Linked DNA regions of Homo sapiens: regions 1 and 2 are each linked to region 3. The links are contacts of gene promoters, found by promoter capture Hi-C in blood cells and fetal thymus (Javierre and others, 2016). All regions are on one chromosome and are shown on one strand. The core of a region is centred on a gene start or on the middle of the fragment in contact, and the rest is flanking DNA. Distances in the headings are between cores, read along the strand shown.

Evidence for each region. Contacts are between HindIII fragments. The CHiCAGO score rates a contact against its expected background, and 5 or more counts as called.
Region 1: a fragment that was not itself captured here is called in contact with the fragment with the promoter of COPS3 in region 3 in 1 of 17 cell types (endothelial precursors); the score reaches 5.0 in endothelial precursors.
Region 2: a contact is called between the fragment with the promoter of LINC02090 here and the fragment with the promoter of COPS3 in region 3, in 14 of 17 cell types (total B cells, total CD8 T cells, M1 macrophages and 11 more). The highest score is 10.0, in total B cells.

What each region holds. Positions count from the first base shown.
Region 1 is chr17:17,661,621-17,664,389 of GRCh38, reverse strand. No RefSeq gene overlaps it. Among named protein-coding and RNA genes, the nearest start is that of SMCR2, 15 kb to the left of the region's middle. RefSeq lists enhancers at 568-707, 1,198-1,287. The HindIII fragment of the contact is 2,360 bases long and covers 167-2,526 here.
Region 2 is chr17:16,987,070-16,989,769 of GRCh38, reverse strand. It overlaps LINC02090 (long intergenic non-protein coding RNA 2090), which reads right to left and starts at 1,441. Exons shown (of 3, transcript NR_146886.1): 1 at 1,247-1,441; 2 at 720-855. RefSeq lists enhancers at 1,099-1,318, 1,951-2,700. The HindIII fragment of the contact is 6,040 bases long and covers 1-2,419 here.
Region 3 is chr17:17,279,978-17,282,695 of GRCh38, reverse strand. COPS3 (COP9 signalosome subunit 3) reads left to right here and starts at 1,450. Exons shown (of 12, transcript NM_003653.4): 1 at 1,450-1,564. The coding sequence starts at 1,510. RefSeq lists enhancers at 1,253-1,352, 2,003-2,062 and a silencer at 1,573-1,812. The HindIII fragment of the contact is 7,073 bases long and covers 1-2,718 here.

The DNA.
Region 1 (2,769 bases), core at 97-2,596, 380 kb before region 3:
ATTAAGCTTGCTTTTGGGGGCCACGACCGATGTAAGCCTGCAGCTGTGAGGTCTACCCTAGGCTAGGGAAGGTTATTCTGAGAAGAAAGTGAACCCCAAGGAAGGGGAAATCCAGAAGAAGATTCCTGATGACATCTGACAGCTGGATCCAGCTGTTCCTGAAGCTTTTATATTCCTGTTTTGTTTGCCAATAATTTTTTTTGTCATTTACAACTCAAAGCCAGGCCGTCTGGTCCAACCCCTTGTCCCCTGATACTTGATGCTTCTCCATAGCAGCTATGACAGTCTCTGCTTGGATGCTGCTCATGATGGGGATCTCACTACCTACCAAGGGAGCTCTACAAGGGCAGAACCAACTCTGGTGCAAGTGAGAGCTGATAATCTATTGCTCTTGTCTGGAAATGGTGTGCACAGCTGGGAGCTCCCCTGGATTGGATTCAGGGCAGTGGAAAGAGGACCCTTCATGGTTCAGTAGACCTGAATTCAAATTTCAGGCCTGGTGGTGACTCACTGTGTGACCTGAGTGAGGCAAGGGACTTCCCCTACCTGAACCTCAGTTTCAACATCTGTAAAATGGTCTCCCTGGCCACACTGATTTGGTGAGGACACCACGAGGATTAAGCAAGAAAATGTGTGTGAAGCTCTGGGCGCACGCCAGTGTGTGGCACACAGGGGACACCTGAGGGCCACATCCCTCCTGTGGGTAATGCTAATGGACACTGCACACCCATCTGAGAGGGTCCACTCTGCGTCCATAAGAGGTTGGCACTGGGGAGTCCGCACTGGGCCAGGCTGCTCCTGCTCTGCGGAGCGTCTGCTGCAGCTGTGACTCACAGCCCGACCACACTCACAGCCCAAGACTCGGAGCCGTCTGTTGTTATGGCGACGCAAGCCCACTGGAGTCCTGGGCTGTCAGTCATCAAGGTCTGACGCTGGGGGTGTGTTTTGGCGTGTGGGTGTGGCCTGTGTGTTTGTGTAGGGGGATGGGCGTGTGAATGCTATTCCTGCGTGTTCAAGGCAGTGTGCTGGTGTTTGTGTGTGGACTTCCTGTGTGTGCAAGGCTGGGCATGTCTGCATTGAGGGCGTTTGTCTGTGTGTGGTGTTGAGCTGTGTGTGCGGTCTGGGTGTCTGTGGGCTGTGTGTGTGTGTAATGTGCCTTAGGAACGCTGGCCCTGAGGCAGGGTGGACAGGAGGGTGGCCCAGGGAGGGGTGTAGGCCTGGGTGTCTATCGCTCTGACCTGGTGGCCCTGGGTTGGTCACTGCACCTTTCTCAGCCTGTTTCCCCCTCAATAAGCACAGCAGGTTGCAAAGGGCACTCACACTCGCTATTTCATTTAATCCTCCTGTGATCCTGTACCAGCAGCTGCTCACTCAACTCATATTTAGAGTCCACTCTGTGTCAGGCCCTGGGGATACAGCCATGAACAGAGACTTCCTCCGCTGAGGGTCTCCAGTCTCCAGTCTGGTGGGAGATGGACAATACACAAACAAGCAAACAAAACCAGAGACTCCAGTGGGTGCTGGGAGAAGGAACAGCAGGAGGAGGGCACAGAGAGTGATGGGGTGGAAACTGAGGACAGGGTGGTCAGAGAGGTGACTTATGAGCAGAGGTTCTGAGGAAGGAGGCCAGAGTCATGGGAAGAGCATCGCAAGCATCGCAACAGTAAGTGCAGAGGCCCTGAGGCAGGTGGAGGTTCATGTATCTGTGGCCCAACGAGCAGGCCGCGCACTGCAGCGGTGTGGGTGGGATGGGCAAGGCCACTGCCATTTGCAGTTTGTGGATTCCAAGGCAAGTGCACTGGTGAAAACAGCCCATTGTTCATCCACTGATGAATGGAGAGGCAACATGCGGTATGTCCAGACAAGGAAATAGTATTTGTCAATAAAAAGGAACAAATGGCCAGGCGCGGTGGCTCATGCCTGTAATCCCAGCACTTTGGGAGGCCAAGGCGGGCAGATCACTGAGATCAGGAGTTTGAGACCAGCCTGACCAACATGGAGAAACCCTGTCTCTACTAAAAATACAAAATTAGCCAGGCTTGGTGGTGCATGCCTGTAATCCCAGCTGCTTGGGAGGTTGAGGCAGGAGAATCGCTTAAACGCAGGAAGCGGAGGTTGCAGTGAGCTGAGATCGTGCCATTGCACTCCAGCCTGGGCCACAAGAGTGAAACTCCGTCTCAAAAAAAAGGAACAAGCTACTGGTACGTACAAAAATATCAGTGAATCTTAAGTGGATTATGCTGAGCAAAAGTAGCCAGCCTTGAAAGGCTGTAGGCTGCAGGATTCTATTATGTGACATTCCGGGAGTGACAAAATGATAGGGACAGAAAACTAATCAGCGGTTGCCAGGAACTGGGGATGGGGAAAAGGCTGACCTGACCACAAGGGGGCTTGAGGCAGTTATGTGATTTGACACATTTGTCAAAATCCATAGAATTGTATGCTAAAAATTGATGAGTTTAATTGTATGTAAATTATACGTAAATATACCTGGCCACACACCAACACCCAACATCTCACAAAGCTTGGGGCTGAGTGACCCTCCCACCTCCCGGAGAGCTCGTGAGAGCAGCTCTGGGAAACACACTTTTCTTCAGGTCCTGTCATTTCATTTTCAACTGCCTTGTCCTTAATCTGTCTTTGCCGTGAATATAGTAGTTTATTTTCTTTTTTGTTTATGTTTTTGTTTTTGTTTTGTTTTGAGATGGAGTTTTGCTCTTGTAGCCCAGGCTGGAGTGCAATGGCGCGATCTCAGCTCACTGCAACCTC
Region 2 (2,700 bases), core at 192-2,691, 290 kb after region 3:
CATCTGCTCCTCCTGTGCCAGGAGTGGAAGGAGCAGCTCAAAACCAAGCCCCATGCCACAGCAGGTGGGCCCACCTGAGATTAGCACCTCCCTTTCCACCAGGAGCCAAGAATACCCAGGTTGCTCATTTGAACCCATATGGTGAAGTTTCTCTCTCTCTCTTACTCTCTCGCTCTCGCTCTTGCTCTCTCTCTCTCTGTAATTTATTCTGTAATTTCGGTTTTCAAAAACAAAACCCTTCCATAGTACAAAGTTCTCAGACTGGGTGCTGTCTCCAGTGAGTTCCTTGTAAAACAAATACGTGTTGCTTGTGGTTGTACAAGTTGCACAGCTACGCCAGGAGGAAGTAGACAGCTGTGAACGAGCTGGGGCCACACCTGCTTTGTGGTGGGGCTGTCCCTTGCATCCTAGGATGGTTGGGAACATCCCTGGCCTCTACCCCCAGATGCCAGTAGCAATCCCTCCCACCCCCATCATTGAGACACCCCAGATGTCCCCAGCATGGCCACATGTCTCCTGACAGTGAAGGCAGAAGCACTTTGGTTGAGAACCGCTGGTGCAGAGCAGAAATGGCCTGATGAGAAGAGGGATGAGAGGCTGAGGTGCCTGCAGTCTCCCCTCTGTGTGTCTCCAATCCACTTTTGTGTTTTACATATGTAGGGAGGCATTATGAACAATGTCTAGTGCTATGTTGGGGTCCGTGTTTAAAATGTACTTACGTGCAGCTGTGCTCTGCCCTGCCTGTCCGCGCTCGTTGCTGTGTGGCTTGTGTCTTTGACCTGTTCTGTGATGCTCCATTACAAGAGCACATTGCATCACATTCATCCCTTTCCCGGTTACTATATCAGGCAGGACCTGGGCAGGAAACAGTGGTGCGGTCAACATGAAAAAGAGCTGAATGGACAGACTTTAGCAAAGCGTAGGCAGGGCTGACAAAAACAGTGCCACGTTGTCTTCCTGGGGTTCATGGTTTCAGATGCTGCTGCAGGGACTGTCTCTGCTCATGGCTCCTAGTGTCCATGTGCAGAAGCATCTCCAAAGGCCCTTGCAAGGGGACTCACTGGGGCCAGGTTATCCACAAACACCGTGATACTCAAAATCTAGTTTTACCCTAAGGAGGTAGGGGATGACTCTTTGGATCTAGAAGTGAAGGCACCTCCTAAGGGAATTTATCCTGAGTCACCTCCTCCTGGCAACTCACCCAAGGACTCCCCATGGGGCTTCCTCACACAGAGATATCCCCTACCATAGGAAAAAGACTCCTGGGTCCGGCCTCAGCTCCCTCTCGTTGGCTGTGCCTGTGTTTCTCACTCATCTGGCCAACCCACAGAAGTGGGTGGAGCCGGGTCTGTGCTGGGCTCTGGGGAGCATCTGACGAGTCACTGCAGAAGCAGCACTTTCTGCAGGAAGAACAGAAGTGTCTGCCTGTCTCTCACTTCCTTTTTGGGGCCTGGGAGGGTTGGCCTGTGAGTGGCCAGCTGCTATTTATGGGGCTCGACTGCTCTGTGTGAAACCCCAGTCTCTCTCGAGAGGGAAGAGTAGTGGGAAAGGGTGGTGCCAGGTGACATTGCCCCTGGTCTGGGGTACAATCAGCCCAGGTGCAGCGGTCACAACGTCAGAGTAGGGGGTGTAGCTCAGGGGTAGAGCATTTGACTGCACAACGTCAGAGTGAAACCCATCTAGGTCAGGATGGACGTGATGGGTTTCCTAACAAATCAACTCTGTGTTCCTTGTATTTGTAGACGCTCAGTGTATAGAGTGGGCTTTTAGTTGGGTGACCACATTCCAACCCCCCTGATTTGGACAGAAGGGGAAACTGAGGCCCACAGAGGCTAAGTGCCTAGTCTGAGGTCACATGCTGAGCTTGGGACATCAAGAGGACTAGAGTCCATAGTCTGGACTCTCATTCTAGTGCTCTGCCTTTTCATGGGGGTGGCAGGGTCACCCGTTTGGCGCAAAATTAAGCTGAGTTTCAAAGGCCACTGAGCATCTTCCCCAGCCCCAGCCATTCTCAGGGTCCTGGGAGGAGGACAACTGTCTCCTGTATTGTCTTGAACCCCTGGTGGATGGGCGGGGCAGGGGGTAGGAAGGGGCAGAGAAGGGGCTGTCCAGATGTGACACATCTGGAGTCTCCACATCTGCCCCAGGGGTGATGAACAGAGCTGCCCTCTCCCGCCTGTTCATGGTGGCCTTCGGTCATCTTTAGTTTTGTACCACCCGGGTTGCTTTTGGGTGTGCCTTGTGACCTGTTCTCGCTGGAATGAAATGGCCTGTGCATTCCTCCCTTCCTCCTCCTCCCTCTCCACCTCCCTCCCTCCCTCCTCCCCCATACGTGTACTGAGCCCATACTCTGTGCCCCTTGCCTTTGAGATGAATGGCCGGGGCTGTCCTAACTGAGGAGGCAAGATTTGGGCAAGCTTCCTGGGAGGCAAGCAGTCACCCAAGCACACATCTGGGCAGAGAGCATTCCAGGCAGCGGAACAGCACAGAGGGGAAGTTGTCAGCATTGGCCTGGTGTGAGCAGGGGAGAGTGGCAGAGGGCTCAGGGAGAGAAGGCCCAGGTTCAAGGCCCAGGGCCATTATAAAGATCCAGTGTTTAGTCAGAGCAGCTGGGGAGTGGCAGAGGTTCCTGGGCAGTGGAGGGCTCAGCTGTGGCTCAGGTGCTAACAGAGTACATGGCACCTGGGGGTGGGGGGGCCT
Region 3 (2,718 bases), core at 201-2,700:
CTATGCAGCAAATCCTATGCTGGGCCCTAAAGGGGAACCAAGGTTAGTAAGAGAAATGCTTGACCTTAAGGAACTCCATGCCAGTTAGAAGCAATGGATCCGTAAACCAAAAGTATCTGAGACCAGTCTCAATCGAGAAAGTTTATATTGCCAAGGTGAAGGATGCGATGATAACACGGCCTCAGGAGCTCCTCAGGACATGTGCCCAAGGTGCGGGTACAGTTTGGTTTTATACATTTTAGGGAGACATGAGTCATCGATCAATACATGTAAGATGTACGTTGGTTAGGATCGGAAAGACGGGCTAACTCGGGGCAGTGGGGGGCTTCTACCTTATAGGTAGACTTAAAGATTTTTTGATTGGTAATTGGTTGAAAGAGTTATTATCTAAAGACCTGGAAGTAAATAGAAAGAAATATCTGGGTTATGATTATAAGGGGTTGTGGAGACCAAGGTTTTATCATGCAGATGAGGCTTCCAGGTAGCCTGCTATTCAGACAGAATAGATTGTAAATATTTCTTATCAGTCTTGAGTCTACCAGTCTTAAGGTCTCTGTGTTGATGTTTGTGAGGCATGTCTGACTACCACTTCCCATCATGGCCTGAACTAGTTTTTCAGGATAAATTGGAATGTCCTTGGCTTCAGATAGGGTCCACCAGTCAGTTGGGGGGCTTAGACTTTTATTTTTGGTTTACAGATATCACATGGACTATAGAGACACATTTCTGTAACAGAGTAGAAGTGCAACATGAGAAGAACAAAGTGCTTTAGGCGACAAGCGGAGGAGGGAGACATCAATCCCAGATGGGAAAAATCAATTCACTTTCTGTGTGTGGTGTTACTTATTTATTTATTTTTTGCAGGGAAGGGATCGATTCATTCAACGTACACCTTGAATGAATAACTATAGTTCTCCCTACGTCCTATGCACTGTCCTAAGTGTTTTACGTGGTTAAGGACACTAAGATTTTACAGATGGGGAAAACAATGCACACGACAGTCAAGTGACCCGCTCAACGTCACACAGCTACTAAGTGGTAGAAAAGGCAGTTGAACCCAGGCTGCTTGGCTCCAGAGTCTAATATCACGGGGAAAACCTCACGGGAGACGTGGCAACGAAGTTGTGCTTCATTGAAGTATCTGTCCAGGTGGAAAACCGCAGGGCCTCTCTAGCAAAATCCAGAACCAGAAAATACTTGCTTAATTATGAGTTTCCTTCCTTCTTTTGCCCACTATCCCCATTTAACCTGCGGAGGGATTTCAGAAGTGCAGTGAATAAAGATGCAGGGGACTATGGAACACTAATTTCCGGCTACGGCGAATTCAGGCTGTTTCCATGGAAACAGTAACGGGTGGGCAGCTAGGTATAGTCTCGCGGTGCTTGAACCAGCGGAAGTGACGTCGCCGCTCGCGAGGACCTCAGGTGGATCGCCGCGGCCCCTCCTCCCAGAGCGGCAGCCTTTTCCCGCGCGTGCTGCCTTCGCCGCTCGGGCCGCCCGGGGGAAAACATGGCGTCTGCCCTGGAGCAGTTCGTGAACAGTGTCCGACAGCTCTCAGCTCAAGGTAACGCCCTAGGCCGCCGGGCTGGGCATGGGCGGGTACCGGGAACTGGCCTGGATCCCCAGGCGCCAGCACGGACGGCTGGAACAGCCCTTTTAGTCCTGAGACTCTTCTCCGGGGCCGGGCTTGGGGTTGCGGCGTTTAGATCAGGGCAGGATCGAGCGCGGCCGAGTGTAGGCAGCCCCCTCGCGCTCCGCTGTCCTCGCCGGCCGGCCTCCCCTCCCTCGGGCCGCCGGGAGCCCCCTCCCCCCGGCCTGGGCCCCTTCCACCGGGCGCTTTGCTTGACAGTTTGGGGGCGTGACTTCCGCCAGGAGCCATCTCGGGCGACTATTGGTTCCTTCTGTCTCTCTTGCCTTCGGTGATTGGCGCACCGCCATGTCATCTTTGCCGCCGATCCGCAGCTTGCTGACTAGGCCGCCGGGAGCGGGCGGGAGGCGAGTCCGTTCTGGGTGTCTTGGCTCTATGGCTCGCCTCTGCCAGCTCCTCCGCTGCCAGGCGGCGCACGCTCGGGAACCTGTGCGCCTATTTTGGTCCTACAGAATGCTGCGGAAGCTCTCGCTCGTAGGACTCCATTTCTTCTTCTTTGTTTTTTTTTAGCCGAGGCTGGAGTGCAGTGGCGCGATCTCGGCTCACTGCAACCTCAGCCTCCCGGCTTCAAGCGATTCTCCTGTCTCAGCCTCCCGAGTAGCTGAGATTACAGGCGCCCGCCAGCTCACACGGCTTTTTTTTTTTTTGAGACGGAGTCTCACTGTCTCCCAGGCTGGAGTGCAGTGGCGCGGTCTCGGCTCACCTCAACCTTCGCCTTCGAGGTTCAAGCGATTCTCCTGTCTCAGCCTCCCGAGTAGCTGGGATTACAGGCGCCTGCCCGGCTAATTTTTGTATTTTTAGTAGAGACAGGGTTTCACCATGTTGGCCTGGCTGGTCTCGAACCTTGATCTCAGGTGATCCACTGGCCTCGGCCTCCCAAAGTGCTGGGATTACAGGCATGAGCCACCGCGGCCAGCCCACGCGGCTAATTTTTTCGTATTTTTAATAGAGATGGGGTTTTTACCATGTTGGCCAAGCTGGTTTCGAACTCCTCACCTGAAGTGATCCGCCCACCTCGGCCTCCCAAAGTGCTAGGATTACAGGCGTGAGCCACTGCGCCCGGCCAGGAC